Linked DNA regions of Homo sapiens: region 1 is linked to region 2. Evidence: promoter capture Hi-C in human tissues and cell types (Jung and others, 2019). All regions are on one chromosome and are shown on one strand. The core of a region is centred on a gene start or on the middle of the fragment in contact, and the rest is flanking DNA. Distances in the headings are between cores, read along the strand shown. Region 1 overlaps AASS (aminoadipate-semialdehyde synthase). Region 2 holds the start of AASS (aminoadipate-semialdehyde synthase).

Region 1 (6,757 bases), core at 1,420-3,919, 37 kb after region 2:
TTTGAGTACAGCCCATTTTTGATTGTATTATCTCTTGTTTTGTTCTTTGACTTTCTTGTATATTCTGAGTATTACTTCCTTGTGAGACGTATAGTTTGCAAATACTTTTTCCCATTCTGTTGTTTCTTCACTCAATTGATCTTTTGTTTGTTTGTTTTGCTGTGCAGAAGCTTTTTAGTTTGATGTAATTCCATTTGTCTGTTTTTGGGTTTTGTGCTTGTGCTTTTGAGTTCTTATCCAAAAAATTCTTAACCAGGTCAATGTAATGAAGCATTTCCCCTGTGTTTTTTTTTTCTTCTAGTAGTTTCATAGTTTTAGGTCTTCCATTTAAGTGTTTAATCCATTTTGAGTTGATTTGTTTATATGATGAGAAATAGGGGGTCTAGTTTTATTCTTCTGAATGTAGATATCCAATTTTCCCAGCACCATTTATTGAAGAGACTCTTCTTCCCTTAATGTTTGTTCTTGACACTTTTCTCCAAAACTGGTGGATATAGATGCATGGATTTCTTTCTGGGCTTGCTTTTCTGTTCCATTGGTTTATGTGTCTGCTGTTATGCCAGTACCATGCTGTTTTGGTTACTATAGCTTTGTAGTATATTTTGAAGTCAGGTAGTGTGATGCCTCCAGCTTCGTTCTTTTTGCTAAATATTGTGTGACGATTTGGGGTCTTTTGTGATTTCATACTAGTTTTAGGATTGTCTTTTCTATTTCTGTGAAGATTATCATTTTTTTTTTTTTTTTGGTAAGGATTGCCCTGAATTGGTAGATTGCTTTGGGTAGTATGGGCATTTTAACAATATAAATTCTTCCATTCCATGAACATGGGAATATCTTTACATTTGTTTTTGTTTTCTTCAATGTCTTTCATCAATGTTTTACAGTTTTTAGTATAGAGATCTTTCATTTCCTTGGTTAAATTTATTCTTATGCATCTTATTTTTGCTGTGGCTATTGGAAATGGGATTTTTTTTCAGATTGTTCACAGTTGGCATATAGAAATGCTACTAATTTTTGTATGTTGATTTTGCATTCTGCAATTTTACTAAATTTATCAGTTCCAACAGTGTTTTGATGGAGTCTTTAGGGTTTTCTATATATAAGATTTCGTCATCTTCAAACAAGGACAATTTGACTTCCTGCTTTCCAATTTGGGTACCTTTGTTTTCTTTTTTTTTGCCTAGTTACACTGACTAGAACATCCAGTACTATGTTGAATAGTAGCATCCTTTTCTTGTTCCATATCTTAGAGAAAAAGCTTTCAATTTTCCATGATCAGTATGATGTTAGCTGTGGGTCTGTCAAATATGGCTTTTATTATGTTGAGGTATGTACCCTGTATGCCAAATTTGATGAAAGTTTTTATCATAAGGTGATGTTGAATTTGTCAAATATTTTTTTCTGTTTCTGTTGGAATAATCATATGGTTTTTGTCCTTCATTCTGTCAATGTGATAAATTATGTTTATTAATTTGCATATGTTGAACCATTCTTGCACCCCTGGAATGAATCCCATTTATTATGGTGAATGCTCTTGTAAATATGCTGTTAAATTTGGTTTTCTAGTATTTTGTTGAAAATTTTTGTATCTATGTTCTTCAGGGATATTGGCCTGAAGTTTACTTTTTTTGTTACGTCCTTGTCTGATTTTGGTATCACAATAACACTGGCCTTATAGAATTAGTTTGGAAGAATTCCCTCCTCCTTGATATTCTGGAATAGTTTGAGAAGAATTGGTATTAAATCTTCTTTAAATGTTTGGTAGAGTTCAGTAGTGAAACCATCAGGCCCTGGGCTAGTCTTTGATGGGAGACTTTTTATTACTGATTCAATCTTGCTGCTTGTTATCGATTCGCCTATTCAGATTGTTTATTTTTTTCTGGTTCAATCTTGGTAGGTTGTATGTGTCCAGGAATTTGTTCATTTCTTCTAGGTTTTCCAAGTTTTTGGCATATCATTGTTCATAATGCTCTCTTATGATCCTTTGTATTTCTGTGGTATAAGTTGTAATGTCTCCTTTTTCATCTGTGTTTTTTTTTTTTTTTTTGAGTTGTGGGTGATTTGTTATGCAATAATGTTGCAGAAGCTAATACATACTTAAAAAAAACTTTTAGGTTCAGGGGTACATGTGCAGGTTTGTTCTATAGGTAAACTTGTGTCACGAGGGGTGGATGTGCAGATTATTTCATCACCAGGGTATTAAGCCTACTACCCAATAGTCATTTTTTGTGCTCCTCTCCCTTCTCCCTCAGGAAGGCCCCAGTGTGTGTTGTTCCCCTCTATGTGTCTATGTGTCCTCATCATTTAGCTCCTGCTTATAAGGGAGAGCATGCAGTATTTGGTTTTCTGTTCCTGCATTAATTTGCTAAGGATAATGGCTTCTAGCTCTATCCATGTTCCTGCAAAAGACATGATCTCATTCTTTTTTATGGCTTCATAGTATTCCATGGTGTACCACATGTTCTTTATACAGTCTATCATTTATAGGCATTTAGGTTGAGTCCATGTCTCTGCTATTTACAATAGCGCTCCAATGAGCACTCTTTACAACAGCATGTGCATGTGTATGTGTCCTTATGATAGAACATTTTATATTCCTTTGGGTATATTACCCAGTAATGGATTGCTGGGTTGAAGAGTAGTTCTGTTTTTAGCTCTTTGAGGAATTGCCACACTGCTTTCCACAATGGTTGAACTGATTTTTACTCCCACCAACAGTGTATAAGCATTCGTTTTTCTCCACAACCTCACCAGCATCTGTTATGTTTTGACCTTTTAGTAATATCCATTCTGACTAGTGTGAGACGGTATCTCATTGTGGTTTTGATTTGCATTTCTTTAATTATCAGTGATGTTGAATTTGTTTTCATATGCTTGTTGACTGCATGTATGTCTTCAATTGAAAAGTGTCTGTTCATGTCCTTTGCCCAGCTTTTAATGGGGTTGTTTGTTTTTTCTTGTAAATTTAAGTTTTTATAGAAGCTAGATATTAGACTTTTGTCAGATGCATAGTTTGCAAATATTTTCTCCCATTCTGTAGATTGTTTACTCTGTTCATAGTTTCTTTTGCTGTGCAAAACCCCCTTAGTTTAATTAGATCCCATTTGTTGCATTTGTTTTTGGTGTCTTCATCATGAAATCTTTGCTAGTTCCCATGTCCAGAATGGTTTTGCCTAGATCATCTTCCAGGGTTTTTATAATTTTGGGTTTTACATTTCATTCTTTAATCCACTTTGAGTTGATTTACACCATTTTATATGCTGTAAGGAAGTGATCCAGTTTTAATCTTCTGCATATAGCTAGCCAGTTATCCCAGCACCATTTATTAAACAGGGAGTCCTTTCCTCATTGTTTGTTTTTGTCAGCTTTGTTGAAGATCAGATGGTTGAAGATGTGTGGCCTTATTTTTGAGCTCTCTATTCTGTTTTATTGGTCTTTGTGTCTGGTTTTGTACGAGTCTTATGCTGTTTTGGTTACTGTAGCCCTGTAATATAGTTTGAAGTCAGGTAGCATGATACCTCCAGCTCTGTTTTTTTTTGTTTAGGATTGCCTTGGCTATTCTGCTTCTTTTTGGTTCCATATGAATTTTAAAATAGTTTCTTTCTAGTTCTATGAAGAATGTCATGGGTAATTTGATAAGAATAGCATTGAATCTATAAATTGCTTTGGGCAGTATGGCCATTTTAATAACATTGATTCCCCTTGAAAACTGGCAACAAGGATGCCCTCTTTTACCACTTGCATCCAACATAGTATTGGAAGTCCTGGCCAGAACAATCAGGCAAGAGAAAGAAATAAAAAGCATTCAAATAGGAAGAGAGGAAGTCAAATTATCCCTTTTTGCAGATGACATGATTCTATATCTAGACAACCCCCTAGTCTTAGCCCAAAAATTAAGCTGATAAACAATTTCAGCAAAGTTTCAGGATACAAAATCAACATACAAAAATCACTAGCATTTCAACACACCAACAACAGTCATCTAAAATTTTATTCATTTGAGTCTTTTCTCCTTAGGCAGACACAGGGTTTGTTGATTTTGTTTACCTTTTCAAACAAACTCTTTGTTTCATTGATCTTTTATATTTTTTAAGTCTCTATTTTGTTTATGTCTTCTCTAACCATCATTATTTCTTTGTGTCTACTAATTTTGGGTTCAGTTTGTTCCTGTTTTTCTTGGTCCTTGAGGTGCAACATTGGGTTATCTGAGATCTTTGTTCTTTTTTGAAATAGGCATTTCAAAATTGCTATAAACTTCCTTCTGAGTACTGCTTTTGCTGTATCCCATAGGTTTTGGTAGGTTGTGTTTTCATTTTCATTTGTCTCTAGAAATTTTTAAATTTCCCTTTTAGTTTCTCTATTGACTCCTTGATTGATGAGGATTATGTTGTTTAATTTGCATGTGTTTGTAGTTTCCAAAGTTTCTCTTGTTATTGATTTCTAGCTTCATACCACTGTGATCAGAAACAATACTTAATATGATTTCAATTTTTTTGAATTTGTTAAGACATATTTTGTGGCCTACCATATGGTCTATTCTGGAGAGCATTCTATATGTACTAGAGAAGAATGCGTACACTGGTGCTACTGGATAAAAAGTTCTATATTTATCTATTAGGTCCATTTTGTCTAAAGCACAGATCAATTCCAGTATTTTCTTATTAATTTCTTTCTGGTTGATCTTTCCATCTTTGAAAGAGGGGTATTGAAGTCTCCTACTATTATTGTTTTGGTATCTATTTTTTACCTTCATGTTGATTAATTAATATTTGCTTTATATGTTTAGGTGTTCCAATGTTGAGTGCACATGTATTTACAATTGCTATGACTTCTTAATGACTTGAGCTCTTTAATAATGACTTTCTTTGTCTCTTGTGAAAATTTTTGTGTTAAGTTTTTTCTATCTAGAATAAGTATTGTCCCTGTCCTCTGTTGGTATTATTTGCAAGGAATATCTTCTTTCATCCCCTTTGAGGGATGAAAGCCTATGTGCATTCTTAAGGTGAAAGTGTGTCTCTTGTGTGCAGCATATAGTGAGAGCTTATTTTTTTTTTCTCTTTGCAACTTTTATTTTAGGTTCGGGGGTACATGTGCAGTTTTATTACATGAGTAAATTGCATGTCACTGGGGTTTGGAGCACAAATGAATTCGTCACTAAAGTAGTGAGCATAGTACCTGATAGGTAGTTTTTCAGTCTTCACCCTCCTCCCATCCTCCACCCTCAAGTATACCCTGGTTTCTATTGTTCCCTTCTTTGTGTCCATGTGTACTCAGTGTTTAGCTCCCACTTATAACTGAGAACATGTGGTATTTGGTTTTCTGTTCCTACATTAATTTGCTTAGGATAATGGCCTTCATCTGCATCCAGATTGCTGCAAAGGACGTAGTTTCATTGTTTGTTTATTTTTGAGGCAGTCTTGCTCTGTCACCTAGGCTGGTGTAGTGGCACCATCTCATTTCACAAACCTCTGCCTCCTGGGTTCAAGCAATTCTCCTGCCTCAGCTTCCCCAGTAGATGGGATTACAGGTGCCCACCACCAAGCCTGGCTAATGTTTGTATTTTTAGTAGAGACAGGGTTTCACCATGTTGGCCAGGGTGGTCTTGAACTTCTGACATCAGGTGATCTGCTCACCTTGGCCTCTCAAAGTGCTGGGATTACAGGTGTGAGCCACTGTGCCTGGCCAATTTCATTCTTTTTTATGGCTGCATAGTATTCCATGGTGTATATATACCACATTTTCTTTATCCAATTCACCACTGATGGGTATCTAGATTGGTTCCATAACTTTGCTATTGTGAATAGTAGAGCTTTGTTTTTTTAATCCATTCAGCCACTCTGTGTTTTAATTGAACAATTTAATCTGTTTACATTCAGAGTAATTATTGATATGCCAAGGACTTACTACTGCCATTTTGTTAAATGTTTTCTGATTGCTTTATAGCTTATTTGTTCTTTTTTTCCTCTCCTGTTTATCTTTGTGATTTAGTGATTTCCTTTAGTGCTAAATTTGTATTCTTTTATCTTTATCATTTGTATATCTGCTTTAGTATTCTGCTTTGTGGTTACCACAAGGCTTACATAAAATGTCTTATAGTTATAATAGACTATTTTATACTAATAACAACTTAAATTCAGTTGCATACAAAAACTGTAGAATTCTACCCTCCCACCAGCGTGTGTGTGTGTGTATAGTATATATAGTATATATACACACATATATATGTATATGTACATATATTCATATTTCTTTTTTACCTTTCTGAGTTGGGTGCAACCAGTTAATATTTTTTGATGTCACAATTTTCATCTTTTTAGCTTACATATTTCTTAATACTTTATTGTAGCTATCATTATTTTTGACTGTTTTGAATTTTAACTTCCATCCTAGAGTTATATATACCTATGTTTTGCAGAGTGCCATAGTAGTATCAGGGTATTCTGGATTTGAATATATATCTACCTTTATCAGTGGATTTTTTTACTTTTTATGTTTTCATGTTAGTAATGTTCTTTTTTTCTACTTGAAAAACTCCCTTAAGCATTTCTTATAGAGCAGCTCTAGTGGTGAAGAATTCCCTAAACTTTTGCTTGTCTGGGAAAGAGTTTATTTCTTCTTTTTTTCTGAAGGACAGCTTTGCTGTGTATAGTATTTTTGGCTGGCAGGTTTCTGTGCATCAGCACTTTGAATATATCATCCCATTCTCTCCTGGCCTGCAGGATTTCTACTGAGAAATCTGCTGATAGTCTAATGGAGA
Region 2 (6,515 bases), core at 3,721-6,220:
ATGACTAATGACTAATGGCAGAGGAGGTAAACTAGGAATTCATTTTCTTTCCTTCTTTCATCTAAGGGTGGTGGTCGTGGGGGAGAACGGTCCTGGTTGCAGGAAGTGAGATTTAGATTTACCTGTGGGTGGTTCCTGCTCTTGTTTTACCTGAATTGATTTTTAAATTCTTTGCAAGTAAAAAATGTGTGTGTCATTTACAAGACAATATGAGAGTTAGGCAACAATAGTAATTGTCATTTAAAAACTTTTCTTTTCTAAATTACTTCTTATTTTGAATTTGCAGTTTCTGCCTATAAGGCAGTTCTATTTACAATAAGTAGAATAATTTATTAGGGTGGGCATATCATAGATGATATGGTAAAAATTGCTGTTCATTTAAGAAATACAATTAGTCTTGACTTGATGTCATCCATAGGTTCTTGGAAACTATGACTTTAAGCAAAATGACATATATATATATATGTATGTAACAAAACCATTTTTTCTTATCAATGTTATAACAAAACTATATTGAATAAAATTATGCTATTCAATGACCTGCTGCATGTTGTTTTGCTTAAAGTCACAGTTTCCAAGAACGTGTTGATGATGTTAAGTGAGGACTTAAATGTATAAAATTTTGAGAAATAAATGGAACACATTTAGGAGCATGCTGGATTTCTTCCTCCTTCTCCTCTCAAATACCTACTTGTTTTATCTTTATAGAAAAACTTATTTAAAAGTGAGACTGGGTTCCAAATGCAATGAAAGGTGAGGGGGTGATAAAACAGGACAAACTAGTAAGCTTTAACATTAGCTCACATATATTAAGAACATGGCTCATTTAATCTTGACAACCCTATGATGTTCTCCACTGTCCTGATGGGAGAAAGCGAGACTTAGTGACTTGCTAGTGAGAGGCAAAGAAGGGATTAAATCTAAGTCCCATTCACTCTGGTGCTCAAGTGCCAAACCACTACCTTTCAGGACCTCACAGGAAGAACCAGACGAAAATAGAGAATGACTGGGGAAGAGAGAAAACCAAAGTAGGTGGGAGAAAGAGAGGCAGCCTGAGTGGCTAGAATCAACTTCCCAATTTCAGGAGCACGGACTCAGCACCCAATGTGGATGGAAGAGGTCTCCCTTATTAAAAACATTTGAGGGATTGACTGCAGGAGCTGACCTGAGGGGTATCCAAGGTTTGTTTTTGTCTCTCATCTGTTATCCCTTTTCATTATAAAGAAATTTCTGAGATCTGTCACACTCATTACAACAAATGTCACTACACTGAAAAATGTTTGAAATTCCTCATTTCAAGAACCAGTATTTCTCATGTGTATATTTTGCAAAATTCCTAAAGTAAAGCAAGAGAGAAGCACACTGAGCCTCAGGTCCTTGTTGAAGTCATGATGGTCCAGGGCCCTTTCCCAGCTTTTCCTACTTAGGAATTAAATTTCAGCAGTTTTTCCATGAGCGTTCAATCATTTGCAGTGGGATTCACAGTGACCAGTCATACGATTCATTCATTTCAACAAGTAGTTGCTGAAAACATTTTGTGTTGAATATTCTCCTTTGAACCCTCTAGAATTTCTGTCCCTTTCTGCACCTGCTCTGCCCCCAGAATGGGAGGTGATCTTTTTGGACTTCACTAACAATCTGGCTCTATTTATGTCCAAATAGTAGAAGCCATCAGCAGGAGATGAAGGGGCAGGAGGAGAGTGAAGTAAGATTATTCCTTCCCTATGGAAGAACAGGGGTCTGCAAACTGTAGCCCAGAGGCCCTATCTGCCCTGCAGCCTACTTTTGTAAATTAAGTTTTATCAAAACACAGCCACACATATCCATTTAAATATGGCCTATAGCTGCCTTTTACATTCCAGCCAGCAGAGTTGAGTAGTCATGACATGACAGAGATGGTATGATCTGTGAAGCCTAAAATATTTATTTTCTGGCCCTTTACAGAAAAAAGTTTGTTGACCCCTGCCTTAGGTAGGTTCCTCTTCAGGTAGGATTAATCTTTTTTTGTTTGTTTTTGAGATGGAGTCTCACTCTTGTCACCCAGGCTGGAATGCAGTGGTGTCATCTCGGCTTACTGCAACCTCCTCCTCCCGGGTGCAAGCGATTCTCCTGCCTCAGCCTCCCAAGTAGCTGGGATTACGGGCCCTTGCCACCATGCCTGGCTAATTTTTGTATTTTTAGTAGAGACAGGGTTTCACCATGTTGGCCAGGCTGGTCTCAAACTCCTGACCTCAGGTGATCTGCCCACCTTGGCATTCCAAAGTGCTGGGATTACAGGCATGAGCCACTGTGCCCGGCCGGCAGGATTAATCTTTAGGCAGCTTTATTCCTGTCACAAACCACTACTGTTGGTTGAATGGCACTCTCTACAGCTACAGCTACAGCTACACTACAGGTAGAACTATTCCTGAGTTCTGGTAATTATTTCTTTCCCTGGCCCTGTTTAGGCCTACGAGTGATTGTCAGTGTTGCTAGTCCCAGGGACTACATGGCACATATACTGCCACTTTCCTTTATCCCTGCATACACTCAGTCCTTTTGTGTCTCCTAATTTACCCAGTTGGATTGTGCCACCTATTTCCTGCTAAGACCCCAACTGACTTATTACACGCATAGCATCGTACTAGAAGCAATAAATAAATAGAAAAGAAAAGAAAAGAGGAAGTCCACGTACATATTCTTATTTTATGGTGGTGATGACAGGTGAGCTGAGCAATGTGGATAAGGTAAGTATGAATAACTGTGATAAAAGGAAGAATGTGATAAGTACAATAAGAGAGGCCAATACACAAGGGAGAAGGGAAACAATCACATGTGGTTGAAATATTCAGGAAAGTTTTCATTATTTAAGTGGCATTTGAGCTGAACCCCAAAGGGCTGGTTAGTTTTAGAAAGGTGAATATTTTTGTAAATTAGAATTACAGATAAGTCTACAACATGAGGTATTTGGAGGAAAATAAATAATGATTTCCAGTTTCTTCAGTGAGACAATTAACAGGGCACTTTGGCCATTATCTCATTTTGTTCTCATGACTCCACGAAGTAGTGGCTATTATTAACCCATTAACAGATAATGGAGCACAGGCTTTTTTTGAAAACTAAGTAACTTGCCCATGATTTACAACTCAAAGGAGAAGAGTAAGGATTCTTACATTCTTACCCAGATGCTTAATCCTTAGGAAGATAGCAAGGCATAAATTGTGTTTCAGTGGTGGTTTCAGGCTGGTTCTGCTGCAGAAATAAAGCCAAGGTCATTGATTTTGGCCACATCTGAAGCAACTAACATTATGTGAAGAACGTTGGGCTAATGTTCCACAAGTACTGGGTAGTCTCTGAGGCTTTTTGCTTAGGCCAATGAGACAATTGGAGTTGTATGCTTAAAAAAATATGGTCTACGTTATATATAAAAAGGGGTTTGAAGTAGGGTGATAGTAGTGGGGTTTTTAAAGGACAGTGTCAACACCAAGGGTAAGGCTGAGGGGCCAGAGGAAGAACTGAAGTGACCGTGGCTTTTTAAGTCTGGATAGGTGGTGAGTAGGAAGGCAGTGATATTAGTAACAGAGCTGGTGAGCACAAAAGGGAAGGCTTTATTTTATTTTATTTTTTGAGACAGGGTCTTACTCTGTCACCCAGACTACAGTGCAGTGGCATGATCATGGCTCACTGCAGCCTCAACATCCTGCGGCTCAAGTGATCCTTCCACCTTAGCCTCCTAAGTAGTTGGGACCACAGGTATGTGCCACTACACCTGGCTTTTTAAAATTTTATTTATTTTTATTATTTTTATTTTTAGTAGACACAGGTCTTGCTACGTTGCCCAGGTTAGTCTTAAACTCCTGGGCTCAAGTGATTCTCCAGCCTCAGTCTCCCAAAGTGCTGAGATTACAGGTGTGAACCACTACACAGCCTTTGGAAGACTTTCCAAGAATGATAAGGGATCCGATTTTGGAAATGTGAAGCTGAAGATACAGAAGAAAATTCCAACTCTACTTACAGATAAAATTCTAATTTGGGGTTGGGCACAGTGGCTAACACCTGTAATCCCAGTGCTTTGGGAGGACGAGGTGGGAGGATAGCTTGAGGCTAGGAGTTCCAGACCAGTGTCCTGGTCAACACAGCGAGACCCCATGTCTACCACAAATAAATAAATAAATAATTTTCTCTGCAATTGGAGATATGAGTGGAGTCTCAAGAACGTTCTGGCTATAGATTGTTGACATAGGAGTTCAGTAGCTAAATACATCTATGGCAGGTATAAGAAGAGTAAGTGGTGGAGAAAGTTGTAAAAACAGGAGGGAAGATTAACTTCTGACCGTTGACGCCTTGGGGAATCACAGCTGGGCTTCAGACGATTCTTCAGTTCCTAGTGCTGGGGCTAGTGTCTATGAAATACGTTTTCCCCCTCCCTCCAGGCCTCCTAGGTAGTTAGGACTTTTCAATAACATTGGACATTGCCATATGCACATGAACACACTCAGTTTTAATTTCTCAGATTCTCCGCTTGCTGGCTTCTAAAACTGTTGTAAGAACTGTTATCTGGCTTCACAGGGTTGTGACAAGGCGGTGAAATGCTTTGAAAAGTGTCTATAGCTAAACAAACGTGAGGTACCGGCGCTCGCAACTTTTCCCCAGGAGATGTGCACCTCTATTTAGAGCGTAATGCCCAGACTATTTTCGTTGCTTTCCGTCCCCGCCCGCCTTCTGCCACGGACAGTTACAAACCTGGTCGATAATTATCCTGGGAGAACTCGACGTCCCAGCTAAGAACGCAGGTCAGAGATCAGAGATCAGAGACAGAAGGATCTTGGGGAGGAGCAGGGGCCGGGCATGACGTAGCAACTGGCAGCGCCGCCGATTGGCAGATGAGAAGGTTGTTCCCTCAGGGCGGCTGCTGATTGGCTACGGGAGGCAGAGGCGTGACGTCCTCAGAAGTTGAGCAAACACCTCCTACTTCCCGGCCTTCCATCCCAGTTTCTTCTAGGAATTCGGAGCCTCCCCTGCAGCGACTCGGAAGATTCGAGGCGGCGGGGGACAAGTCGGCGCCCCAGAGCGGACGAGGTGAGGAGAGGAGAGGTCCCCGCGGAGAGCTGAGCAGACGCGCGGGTGGGCTCAGCCTGTGAGATGCGGTGGAGATAGCGGGCCGGGCTCGGGCTGTCGCTGGGAGGGGCCCGCGAGCCTGGCCTTCGGGTCCCGGCGCCGCGAGGCGACCCCGGCCGGGCCGAGAGAGGGAGAAGGCGGCGAGCATTCGGGCCTCCCTGCGAGGAATGGAGGGAGAGCGGAAACGCAGAGAGTTTCACTGCGAGGAAGGGAGGGAGAGCGGTCAGCGCAGCTCCAGCATTTCTAAGTAGAAAGGCGAGGGATTGCAATTCGGATTTCTTTTCTTTCTTTTTTGGCGGACAGTGGTGGTGCTGTGGCTGGGGAATAAAGAACTGATGAAGCTGAGGAAACAACGGCTTGTTAATTTGTGGACGGCGTGCTTAGAGGGGACGGCTGGCTGAGGGGGCGGTGGATGGAGATTTCGGGGTGGTTCTTTCCCCCTTCCCTCCCCACGCCCAGCTTAGCCAAACTGATCACAAACTTCTCTCCTTGTCCATCTTGGGCTGCCCACTCTCCGAGACACAGACCCATTCTCCAGCAAGGATCGGAGATGGGTGGAAGTTGGGCGCCTTGCAAGTCTGGGTTTCCTGAACTCTTCAGCCCCTGCGGGACTATGCAGCCCATTGTGAGCGCTCGCGCGGGACGGGGCGCGGGGAGAAGCAGTTTACCCACCCTCCTCGGTTGAATGGGGCTGAATGTCTGTCTATCCTGACAGCTTCAGAAGAAGAAATGTGCTTTTCAGACATTGATTTCAGGGGAATGGGGGTGGGGGGAGCGGAAGAGAGAGAGAGAAAGAGCGCTCGAGCGCGAGAGAGAATGAATTAGTTCAGTAACTTGAACAAGGATTAACATTTTTTGATGTTGTGGGTTATCAGTGGGGAAGGTGCAGCTGTGAGATGTAGTTATACACAGGACGGAATGGTCCTTGACTGAAGCTGCGGCTTTCCAATACTGTATTAAAAAAAATCCCAAAACACTGATGGCACTTTGGTGTTTCTGGGTTTGTCTGTTTTGTCCCCTGCACTCCCCTCTTCTTTTTTTCCCATGAAGATGAGTGAATCTAGGGCTACATGACTTGACTGTGTAACCTGGTGGCCATTCTGCAAAATGAGTTAGGTGGACAAAAATTGAAGCCAATTTACCTGAATCATTTTCCCACTCTTCAGATAATCATATTTGTTATCAGTTTCACTTGTTATTGATGATGGCGTGATCAGAACTTTGGTTTATTTGTCATTGAATTTTTTTTCTCACTAGTCGTTTAACAGACCTTGGTTCGGAATTTTGGAAATGATCTTTGGTGTTTAAGAAGCCACCATTTAACAAAACATTTTCATTTTTTTCATATATTCTTTTATTAATTTTCTCATAGAAATAACATTACAAACAGTGGTAAGTTTTCTTGGGAAGGCTACAAA

What was found. The method cuts DNA at HindIII sites, captures the fragments that hold promoters and counts their contacts. A contact is called where the count stands out against the background at its distance.
Region 1: a contact is called between a fragment that was not itself captured here and the fragment with the promoter of AASS in region 2, in 1 of the 25 tissues and cell types used here (aorta).

What each region holds. Positions count from the first base shown.
Region 1 is chr7:122,103,241-122,109,997 of GRCh38, reverse strand. The region is part of intron 11 of AASS (aminoadipate-semialdehyde synthase); the gene reads left to right. Among named protein-coding and RNA genes, the nearest start is that of AASS, 38 kb to the left of the region's middle. The HindIII fragment of the contact is 3,910 bases long and covers 715-4,624 here.
Region 2 is chr7:122,142,704-122,149,218 of GRCh38, reverse strand. It overlaps AASS (aminoadipate-semialdehyde synthase), which reads left to right and starts at 4,970. Exons shown (of 24, transcript NM_005763.4): 1 at 4,970-5,058. It overlaps LOC102724527 (a long non-coding RNA gene), which reads right to left and starts at 4,805. Exons shown (of 6, transcript XR_007060500.1): 1 at 4,723-4,805. RefSeq lists enhancers at 4,590-4,639, 5,641-6,146 and a silencer at 5,140-5,339. The HindIII fragment of the contact is 13,093 bases long and covers 1-6,515 here.